2 separate regions of the Homo sapiens genome follow, and region 2 is linked to region 1. The links are contacts of gene promoters, found by promoter capture Hi-C in human tissues and cell types (Jung and others, 2019). All regions are on one chromosome and are shown on one strand. Each heading gives the region's core, a stretch centred on a gene start or on the middle of the fragment in contact. The rest is flanking DNA. Distances are from core to core; before and after follow the strand shown.

What was found. Contacts are between HindIII fragments. The study calls those that stand out against the background at their distance.
Region 2: a fragment that was not itself captured here is called in contact with the fragment with the promoter of NUFIP2 in region 1 in 1 of the 25 tissues and cell types used here (aorta).

The regions. Positions count from the first base shown.
Region 1 is chr17:29,291,233-29,296,560 of GRCh38, reverse strand. NUFIP2 (nuclear FMR1 interacting protein 2) reads left to right here and starts at 2,413. Exons shown (of 4, transcript NM_020772.3): 1 at 2,413-2,778. The coding sequence starts at 2,502. RefSeq lists enhancers at 2,045-2,244, 2,555-2,654, 2,348-3,108 and silencers at 2,815-2,934, 3,565-3,744. The HindIII fragment of the contact is 16,686 bases long and covers 1-5,328 here.
Region 2 is chr17:28,904,194-28,909,521 of GRCh38, reverse strand. It overlaps PHF12 (PHD finger protein 12), which reads left to right. Exons shown (of 15, transcript NM_001033561.2): 12 at 641-739; 13 at 1,850-1,932; 14 at 2,528-2,666; 15 at 3,005-4,272. The coding sequence ends at 3,339. Among named protein-coding and RNA genes, the nearest start is that of DHRS13, 3.8 kb to the right of the region's middle. RefSeq lists a silencer at 497-791 and an enhancer at 3,176-3,676. The HindIII fragment of the contact is 5,059 bases long and covers 1-4,858 here.

The sequences.
Region 1 (5,328 bases), core at 1,164-3,663:
CAACTACAGGCACACACCACCATGCCAGGCTAATTTTTAAAAATTTTTGTAGAGAGAGAGTCTCTGTATGTTGCCCAGGCTGGTCTCGAACTGCTGGGTCAACTGATCTGCCATGGTCTCCCAAAGCGTTGGGATTACAGGTGTGAGCCACCACACCTGACCTGTTTTTTCTTTAATAATTGGGAACGTGGCAGAATATTATTCAGTGGTAAAGACTTATTGTGATATGATATTATTATTAGGGTTTTCATTCTCAAAATTGGGTAAATGTACCCCCAAAGAGGTTTTTCTTTAAAATTTAGCAAAGCTGGCTGGGCCTGGTGGCTCATGAATCCCAGCACTTTGGAAGGCTGAGGTGGGCAGATCACCTGAGATCAGGAGTTCGAGACCAGCCTGGCCAACATGGAGAAACCCCATCTCTATTAAAAATACAAAATTAGCCTGGCACAGTGGCGCATGCCTGTAATCCCAGCTACTCAGGAGGCTGAGGCAGGAGAATTGCTTGAACCCAGGAGGCAGAGGTTGCGGTGGGCTGAGATCATGCCATTGCACTCCAGCCTGGGCAACAAGGACAAAACTCCATCTCAAAATAAAATAAAATAAAATTTAACAAGGCAACACAAATCCTTACTGTATAGAACATGCCAAAATTTGGTCATGGTTTTCAGGATTCAATGACATTTGTTATTGGAAACCAGCTTTTACGTTTTAAATAAGCTTTTGCATTGACATTCATTAATTTCATAGCATAAACTTTTTGCTTTCAAGCTTCTTGTTCCTTTAATGTTGTCCTGTTGTAGGAATTCAAGCCACATTTTAAAAATTCAAAAACGTAACATACATTGAGGAAACAGTCCATATGTCCGTTGCTGAGTGAATGAACAAAATGTGGTATATACATATAATGGAATATTAGTCAGCCTTAAAAAAGAGGGAAATTCTGATGTATGCTACTCTGAAGACATTATGCAAAAAAGCTAGTCACAAAAAGACAAATACAGTACAATCCCACTTATATGAGGTACCTAGAATAGTCAAGTTCGTAGAGACAGAAAACAGAACAGTGGTTATCAAGGGATGGAAGGAGGAGGGAAAGGACATTTATTTTTATTGGGTATGAAGTTTCAGTTTGGAATGATGAAAAAGTTCTGGAGATAGATGATGGTCATGGTTCTACAACAATACGAATGTACCTAATGCACCTGAACCATACACTTAATATTAAGATGGTAAATTTTATATTATGAATATTTTACAATTAAAAAAATCCCCCAATCTATAACATACATTGGGAAAAGTGCATTTTATCTGTATATTCAGTTTAACAAATAATTACTAAGCAAATATATGTAATCACCACCTAGCCCCCAAAATGAAATATTATCAGAGTAACCTGTGTCCCTCCCCATCACAACCCTCTTCCTTCCTGAGTAACCACTATCATGGCTCTAACATTTGCTTTTGAAAATCATATACTGTGATGTGGTAATGCAGGATAAGTTAAATCTACACTACAAAACGCTACAGAATATTTCTTTTAATTTCAATTTTTCCATAAGTGCCAAAAAAAAAAAAAACAAACCCACTTAATAACTTTTAAGTGCTCTTTCTCCCCTTCCTTTGCTCTTGAAACTTCTCATTCTAAAACCTATTTTGGTTCCACAGTTGACCTCACCTGCAGAGTTTAATTAAAAAAAAAAAAACCTTCAGTGTAAATTTTCATTCCTCCTGCTCTCCCTTGCCTCCAACTACAAAGAAACAATGATTTAAACCCTTTGTGCCCTTTTAGAAAATTACACAGATACCCCATTGTGGAACCCTATAATCCCTTCGTGGAAAGGAAGAGATTAGCATATGAATACAAAGCAAAATGAATCCAGAATACAAAATGATCTACTGGATTGTGAAGCTCTTGTATGCTTAAAAATGTATTTATTTCCTCTTTTTGTATTGCCCCTTTAGTGGTCTCGGGGTTAAGGGAATTGAGCTTCCCTTTCTGGTTACCCGGAAAAGGATTAAAAACAAAACAAAACAAAAAACAAAAAAACACCAGATTCTAAGAGGTGCAAAGCCAGCAGATGGCTCACAGCACCAGTGGAATCGCCAGTGGAATCTGCTACCCTCGACACGAGCCTGCTTGCCGGCGAGGAGTGTAGAAAGTGCTGTTCACAGACTGCGTGGTGAAGGAGAGAAAGCGACAGAAGAGAGAGCCATAGTGCTGACGTTGAAGGCCCGGCCCTGTGAGGTTGCACAGGGTAAGTGGCGTTGGCCAGGCGGCAGCGGCGAAGGGGAAGGAAAGAGGATTTGAGCTGGGGGCGGGGCTTGCGGCACAGCGTGGCTCCTGATTGTTGGAGTGCGGCTGCCAATCTCGCAGAATCGCTCGGTTAACCAGTGCGCTGGCGAGACGCGCTCAGATATACTGAGTGAGCCCTGAGAAGCAGTCTCAGATCCTGACGGTGCAGCAGCCCGCAGCCTCAGCCAGGGAGTCCCAGCCGCTTTCAATGGAGGAGAAGCCCGGCCAGCCACAGCCTCAGCACCATCACAGCCACCACCATCCGCACCATCACCCTCAGCAGCAGCAGCAGCAGCCGCACCACCACCACCATTATTATTTCTACAACCACAGCCACAACCACCACCACCACCATCATCACCAGCAGCCTCACCAATACCTGCAGCATGGAGCCGAGGGCAGCCCCAAGGCCCAGCCAAAGCCGCTGAAACATGAGCAGAAACACACCCTCCAGCAGCACCAGGAAACGCCGAAGAAGAAAACAGGTCTGGGAGGGAGGACGGGTGGGGGAAGGGGGTTGGGGGTGGAGGACAGGAGAGATGGGGGTGGGGCTGGATCCGAAAAGCGCGGACGGGGTCGGGGTGTGTGTGTGTGTGTCCCCTCCGGCTCTGGGGATGCCCCTTTCATTCTAGAGCTCGGGCTGAGCAATGGGGTTTGCAGCGCCCTCTCCTTCCCTCCAGCATGGGAGAGGCCCAGCCAGGCCAGCGTGACCTTCCTGGCCCCGGCCCCGGCTGAAGGGAGACCTGCTGGGTCGGCCTTGCAAGTCCAACCTCATTATTCTTTTCCCATTCACCTCCCTGCGTCCCTGGAGTTACCTCAATTTGGGGGCCCTGAGATGGGGTAAACCTACCCCCCCAAAAAATCCCTCGAGGTGTAACTCAGGAAGGCCTAGCGAATCCCGACTCGGATGGTGTCGCGAGACCCTTTTGCAGGCGGCGAGGAGTGGGTAGGTAGGGTGAGTTGAGGAAGTGCCCCTCACCCGCCACCCCAAGCCCACCTGTGGCCTTGGGGCTCCCCGTCTCGGTGGGGGGGGCTGTTGGGACCCCTCATCTCACGGGTCATTTCCACCACTAAACGCCCTTTTTGGGCGCCGGACCCCGCAGTCTTGTCCCGCGGCTCCTCCCGAGGCCGGCGCCCCGCGCCCGCTCCCCCCAGAGCCGGCGCGGCTGGAATGTTCTCTCCTCCTCGCGGGGCCGCTTCCTGTCCGCCATGTTGGAAGCCGATTCCTGTCACCGACTCCGGCCCACTGAGGAGCGGAGGGGGAAGGGTGTCGAGGGCCACACGGGGCGGCGGAGCCGGGTGACCCGGGATCACCACCGGCCGCAGCCTCGCCCCCTGCACTGCGGGGGCGCCGGCGCCCCCCGCACCGCGGCCGCCCCCCCCCCCGTCGCCGGCCGGGGTTGTGTAACCCGGTGGCGGCGCGCGGCCCCGGGCGGGTCCCTGGGGTGAGGGGCGGGGGCGGTTGGGGTGGGGGAGGGAAGCGGCCACGAGGGGAGCGGCCTGCGCAGGGCCCCGCGCGCCAGCGGCCGCGTTTCCCGCTCCCGGGTGCGGCGGGAGGCGCGGGCAGTCGGGGCGGGGAGCCGGCCTCGAAGCGGAGCTGAGAGGGAAGGAGGCCGCGGGCGGCGGCCGCGGCGCTCCTAGAGGCAGGAGGCCTGGGGGGGCGGCGGGGGGATTCATTTCGGGTAGAGGCGGTGCCTGAGGCCGGGTGGGGTACCCAGCGGGAACCCAGCTCCCCGGTCACGAGTTTCTCTGCCACAGGAACCTCGTCTCCTGCCAGGTTCGCTCACGACTCCGCCTCTGAGGCTTTCACTTGGGCCTTTTCCTTCTAGCAGCTCATTTTCTACAAAAAAAAAAAAAAAATCCAAAAACCTTGTTCCATTCCCCTCCCGACCCAGCACTTACCTTCTGAGCTTGGGTAGTGTCTTTGAGGTGAGGGATTTTAAAAAATGTTAGGATGGGGAAGAGTGCGAGCTTTTTGACCCCTCTTTCTTGTCCTTAAGGGTGAACCCAAGTGGCTCATCCATGAGGTTAGACTACTACCATCTTGCCTCGGATGAGGCTTCTCTCCGTGTTAAAAAGAAAGGTGTTTTTCGTATTTTAAAATCGATATTGATCCCCAAACTAATCTTAATAAACGAGAAATTGAGGGTAAAAGTCATGTAAGAAAGTATTTCACGAGAAGTGAGTTTAATAGTTTATAACCCACGCAGATTTTAAAAAATAAGGGCTCTTTATAAATCGAAGAGAAATGAAGCGTAAGAAAGCGTATGTTAAACCCAGCGTATCAAATTTGATAGAAGGAATTGTTGAGAGCTGGAGAAATACTAAGTGCTTTTTTATTGCAGATTGTAACTTGAAGACTGAAATTAGAATGTCAGATTTTCCATTTTGGGACTTCGTAGGGACCCGATAGTATGCAATAGAAGTGAACACATACGCACGAGTTAGGTGTTTTAATCCTAAAGATTTGGAACAGTTTAAAAACTGTTAGGGACTATATAACTAGATTTTTTAGCATTAGATCTTGTTCAAAAGATGAGAAAATACTACCATATTATGGCTGCATAAGGCAATATTACTGTTGAGATTGAAAAATTGTATCTCATCGGTCAGGTTAATATACTCTTGCCAGACTTCTCTCTACATGTGGAAGCAACCGCTGAACCATTCAAGGTGGTATTCCTCCAAATATTTCTTGTCTTGGAAGGGGTGGATAAAGAGGAGGAAACTGGAATTAGCAGTTTTGACAGAATGTAAACAGTTTGGGGCGAGTGTATGATTTGGTCACAGTACTGTTGCTTTGACATGCATAATGCTAATAACTAAGAAAACATTACAATATTTTTGAAATTTATCTGTAACATGTTGAGGTAGGCTTTGGTAATCCATTGCTCACAAACCTAAAGAGGAACAGTTTTTTTTAATCCAGAAGAGGGCGCAAGAGAAGGCCAAATGTGTTGAGTAATTTGTTTCTAATTGAAAAGCTAGATGTATCAGGACTCAAGTTTTGCTGAGTCTTTTGGAAGTAGGGTTAG
Region 2 (5,328 bases), core at 1,080-3,579, 390 kb after region 1:
TAACACTAGGCCAACCTTCTGGAAATTTTCCCCAAGTGGTTAACTCTGTTTCAGATATGTCTGAGCATTGGCCATTAAGAGCCTTGCTGCTTCAAAGTGTGGTTCGCAGACCAGCAGCATCAGCAGCCCCTGAGAGCTTGTTAGAAATGCAGAGCTCAATGCATTGGTTTTTTGCCTATTTTTAAAGAAAACAGCAAAAGAAATGCAGAGCTAAGGCCCCTCCTCAGACCTATTGAATCAGAATCTGCATTTCAACAAGATCTGTAGGCGATTCTTATGCACATTAAAGTTTGAGAAACACTGGTCCATGCCGTCTGTTTTTCCATATTCTCCCTATAGTACCAGCTGGAATATCCCGGATTAGCCAGCCAGGAGCCCAGGAACTTACACAGTACTGTCATCTCTGACTTCTCTGACCATCTTCAAAGATGGTCCTCTGTACCCTGTGTTGGAAATGCTGTGGGTGGGGAGAGAAAGCCTTACCCTGCCGCAGCTCAGTGTTGGATGTGAGTTTGGAAAGATGAGTCATCCAGCGGGATTTTCTCCAGGCCATGAGCCAAAGGTCCAGATTTTGTTGGTTTATGTTTGGATCACAGGATCTGAGTTTCTGAATGATCCTATTCCTATGTTTGTCTTGTAGTGCAAAGAAAGGAGGTACAGGCCCGAGCTGTGTTCTACCCCCTCTTAGGGTTGGGAGGAGCTGTGAACATGTGCTATCGAACCCTCTACATCGGGACAGGTGAGCCAGCCAGGAAGCTGGGAGAGACACTGAATCTGTTCAGCCCTAAAGACTGACACCCTTACCCACAGAAGTTAGAAAGGGGTGAGGGAAGCCCTTTCCAGAGTTGACTGCTTTAAATCAGTGGATAGCTAGACAAGAGAAACTAAGAATAGAGACAATCAGCCAGTCACGGTGGCTCACGCCTATAATCCCAACACTTTGGGAGGACAAGGCAGGAGGAACACTTGAGCCCAGGACTTCGAGACCAGCCTGGGCAACATGGTGAAACCCTATCTCTACCAAAAACAAATATAAAAAATTAGCTGGGCTAACATGCCTATAGTCCCAGCTACTTGGGAGGCTGAGGTGGGAAGATCACCTGAGGCTGGGAGGTCCAGGCAGTGATCCTTTTTGTGCCTCTGCACTCCAGCCCAGGCAACAGAGTGAGACCCTGTCTCAAAAATAAAAGAGACAATCAGTTCCTTGTCTTCCCTTGTTCAGGCCCTTTTGCTTTGTCTTTGCCCAGTGTTGCAACAGCAGAGATGAAAGTCAGCTCTGACTACTGCCCAGGGAGGCACTTTAAACACTGCAGGGAAGAACCTAAGGAGAAGGCAGATGCTTTGTCCCTGGTGGTCTTTGAAAGAGTGATAGACTCACACATACCCAATCTTCAGTTAGCCCTGTATCTGTTTTTTGTTTTGTTTTGTTTTCCCTAAAAGTCCTAGAGACCGATAGCTCTGTATCTGGTACAGAAGGACAGACAGATTAGCCCTTACCCTAGAAACTTCCCTTTCTTTAAGGTGATAAGATTTTCTAGGCTCTGCACCCCGATGTTGTATTTTCATAGAAATATCCCATCCTCTTCAGTAGCTCACTCTTCCCTTCTGGGTAGCAGCCACATGTTCTAAAGCAGATCAGCTGGCAGGGACAGCTGTTCTTTATCAGGAGCTTGGAAAAGACAACAGTTTTTGTTCAAAAATAAAAGGGGAGGGCCCTGAGCTACTCACCCTTGAAGTCTCTGCTAGTGCCAACCCAGAAGCTAACTCTCTCCCTGTCTTACCTCCCCGACACATGCACCTTACAATCTGTTCTCTGCCTTCCTTTTCCTCTACTCCTGCCACCTTGCAGGAGCTGACATGGATGTGTGCCTTACAAACTATGGTCACTGTAACTACGTGTCCGGGAAACATGCCTGCATATTCTACGATGAGGTGAGGGCCGGAGATGCGGTGGGAGGGAGCTTTCCCAACCTGAGGCCTCTCCCAGGCAGTAGGTTTTTGTTCAGTGCCCTGAGGGGAGGGAAGAGGGATTGGGGGTCCTCTCTTTTTCTTCCCTCCCTGTCATTCCTGGAGGAGGAGAGTCTTGATGTGAAATAGCATCCTACCTGGGAAGCTACCTGCTTCCCAGGAGCAGGGCTACCATTTTTCCTGAGGTTAGTCACAGGCACAACAGAGGGAGCCTACCCTAAAGCAAGGGAGGGGACCAGCATAGAAGGAAGCCAAGCCTTGTGGGTGTGTCCCTGTGAATTTCATTATCATCACGGGCCAGTGAGTATCATACCAAGAGGAGCGGTGCTGAGAGGGCAGAGTGAAGGAGTGGGAGAGTAGGGAGTGTGGGACACCAGAAGGAAAGCTTCCCTGAGGAGGTGTCTCCAGCCCCCTTCTGAAAGGACAGGGGCCATGACTGGGGAGGCAAGTAAGGACTCTCTAGGTAGAGTAGCACGGCCTTCTCCATATGTCCTCTCTCCCCTTAGCCCCAGGCCCCACACAGCAGACCACACATCTTATCTCCCCTCCTCCTCCTCAGAATACCAAACATTATGAGCTGTTAAACTACAGTGAGCATGGGACAACGGTGGACAATGTGCTGTATTCATGTGACTTCTCGGAGAAGACCCCGCCAACCCCCCCAAGCAGTATTGTTGCCAAAGTGCAGAGTGTCATCAGTAAGTTGGAGCAGAGATCTGTGGCCACAAAGCTGAGGCCCCAGTCAGGGTGGTTCTGACTTGCTGCCCATGGTCTGTCTCTTGCCTTCCCAGTCCTATTGGCCAAGCTCTACTTCCTCGTGGGCCCAGGGCAGGCCACAGAGAAGCAAGTGCTGAGTACCCCCATGTGTGTACACACCTGTGGGGACTTCAGACTCCACCAACCCTTTCTGAGCATCCTTCCTCCCTAGTCATGCAGCAGTTGGAATGGGGAGATGCAGGAGCCCAACCTTGGCAAACAGCCCACATGGGTTGGCTGCTCACTGTTCCTCTTCTGTGACCATCCCCCTTTTTCCCAGGGCGCCGCCGGCACCAGAAACAGGACGAAGAGCCAAGTGAGGAGGCAGCCATGATGAGTTCCCAGGCCCAGGGGCCGCAGCGGAGACCCTGCAATTGCAAAGCCAGCAGCTCGAGCTTGATTGGGGGCAGTGGGGCCGGCTGGGAGGGCACAGCCTTACTGCACCATGGCAGCTACATCAAGCTGGGCTGCCTGCAGTTTGTCTTCAGCATCACTGAGTTTGCGACCAAACAGCCCAAAGGCGATGCCAGCCTGCTGCAGGATGGGGTCTTGGCCGAGAAGCTCTCTCTCAAGCCCCACCAGGGCCCTGTGCTGCGCTCCAACTCTGTTCCTTAGGACTGGCGGCTACCCCGCCACTGGCCTGTACACCCACCCAAGACTCCTGCAATGCAAAAATGTACACAAACCAAGCCCGGGTGTTTTCTATACTCTACCAGAAACCCTTCAACTACAATCTTTGCATGAAATGAAGAAAACCTTTTGACTGTTTTTTAAAAATCCTTTTTCTTTTCTCAAGTTCTAGGGGGCATTTGCACATATATTTGTACTCAACATTTCATGGGAAAGCGGCAGACCTGAGCTGAGGAACAGCGTGGGCAGGGAGGGAAAGACCCAGGGTCTGGACACTTCCTCCAACACAAAACCCTTCCCCACCCACCTCCTGCTCCCTCCCCCTCGCCCACCATTGTAAAATAATCAGAAACTTGTTCTATTTTGTGGCAGTGACAATAGTTTTATATTAAAAGAAAAAATACAGTTTTCATACAGCAAAATCTATACAATATCATTGTTTTATTTAATATAAAGATCGCTACCCACCTTCCTTCCATGGTTCCCACCCTCCACGTTATTTTCCCTTTCTGCAGCGGTTGCACTACAGGTAGCTACTGTGTATTATGGACAAATGAGAAATGAATTCTTTTTCTGGCTGTCCATCTATTTTATTTCAAATAAGGAAAAGTGTATTTGGATTTTGTGTAAATACATCTAGTGATGACATTTTTTCAATGTTTTTAAAAACCGTGTACAGTACTACATGTGGTAGAGCGTTTTCTCAAATTGTCTATTGTAGCAAAAATGTTTTTGTCGTAAACCTGTTTTGTCTCCTTTTTTTGTTCTCTTGCCACTTCTCTCCTCTTCCTCCTGCCCCTGGTTCCCTCCTCTCCTCCCACCCCCACAACCAGTACCAATGTACATAGTAATTGTAATGTTTTAGACTTTACAGAAACTTTCCTGTATTCTGTATATAAAAAACAAAAATACTTCAAATTGTTTTCTGACTGTCTGTCCTACCTGTCATCACCCTTAGAGGAGACCCTCCCCTAGATCTGGGTCTAGCAGGTGGGGGGCCTTTTGAACAGGTCTCATTCCCATAGGGAAGTTTGGTAGGGGAGGTGTTGGAGAAAAGTGAGCCAGGGTGGGTGGATGACAATGGAATGACATGGGTGCGTCTGCTGGCCCGGGGGGAGCTGTTTCTCCAGAGAACCCTGACTGATAGTGGAATCTAGTCTTGACCTGTCACTTCTAGTCATGTGATCTGCAGTCACACTTCTCTACAACTGCTATTCCTCATCAAAAAACGAGTCTGCTGCATTACCTTAATTCTCAAGTCCCGGGGACCTTCATTAAACCAAATTCCATGCTTTCCTCCCAGATCTTAGTGAAAAACTCTCCAGGAAGTTTTCCTGAGGTCAGCCTCCTCAGATGGAGAGCACCTCTGTGTATATTCCAGCACTGTTTGTGTAGGTGCATCTGCTTGTGTGTCAGGATTTTGCCTTAGGGATAGAAAATGAATATTCTACCCCCAGCCTCATCCCACAGCATCTACAATGGAAACCCGAATCCGCAGTGCAGCTAAATAGGAAACTGGCCCTGGAATCTGAGGTCTGTCCCTGACTTTCATCTGCCCATGCAGGCGTCATCACTCTGCTCCCGGTGCCCTAATGGGCTTTTTGAACTCCCTAAGGACAGAAACTTGTATATCTTCCACTCGGAATTTCCAAGTCTAACTACACTGCTGGGCACACCATAAGTGCCAAATACCAGGTTCTAAATTGTACTGAATGTATCAGGCAACGGCCTTCTGCCCTGGAATGGTCTTACCCATTTGTTCCTAGCCAGCCCCACCCTTCCTGCCATCATGGTCACTTGTAATTGAGTGATGGAGCTTCTCTGCCTGTCTCTTATCACCTATGAGAACCATTCCAAAGGCAAATTTCCTCCTGAAAGGCAATAACAGATTTTACTCTCTATCTCTTCCTGCTTCCCTTCAGCCATGGAAGGCACTAGTGGGGTTGAGGTAGGGAGATACAGAGGGGGAATGAA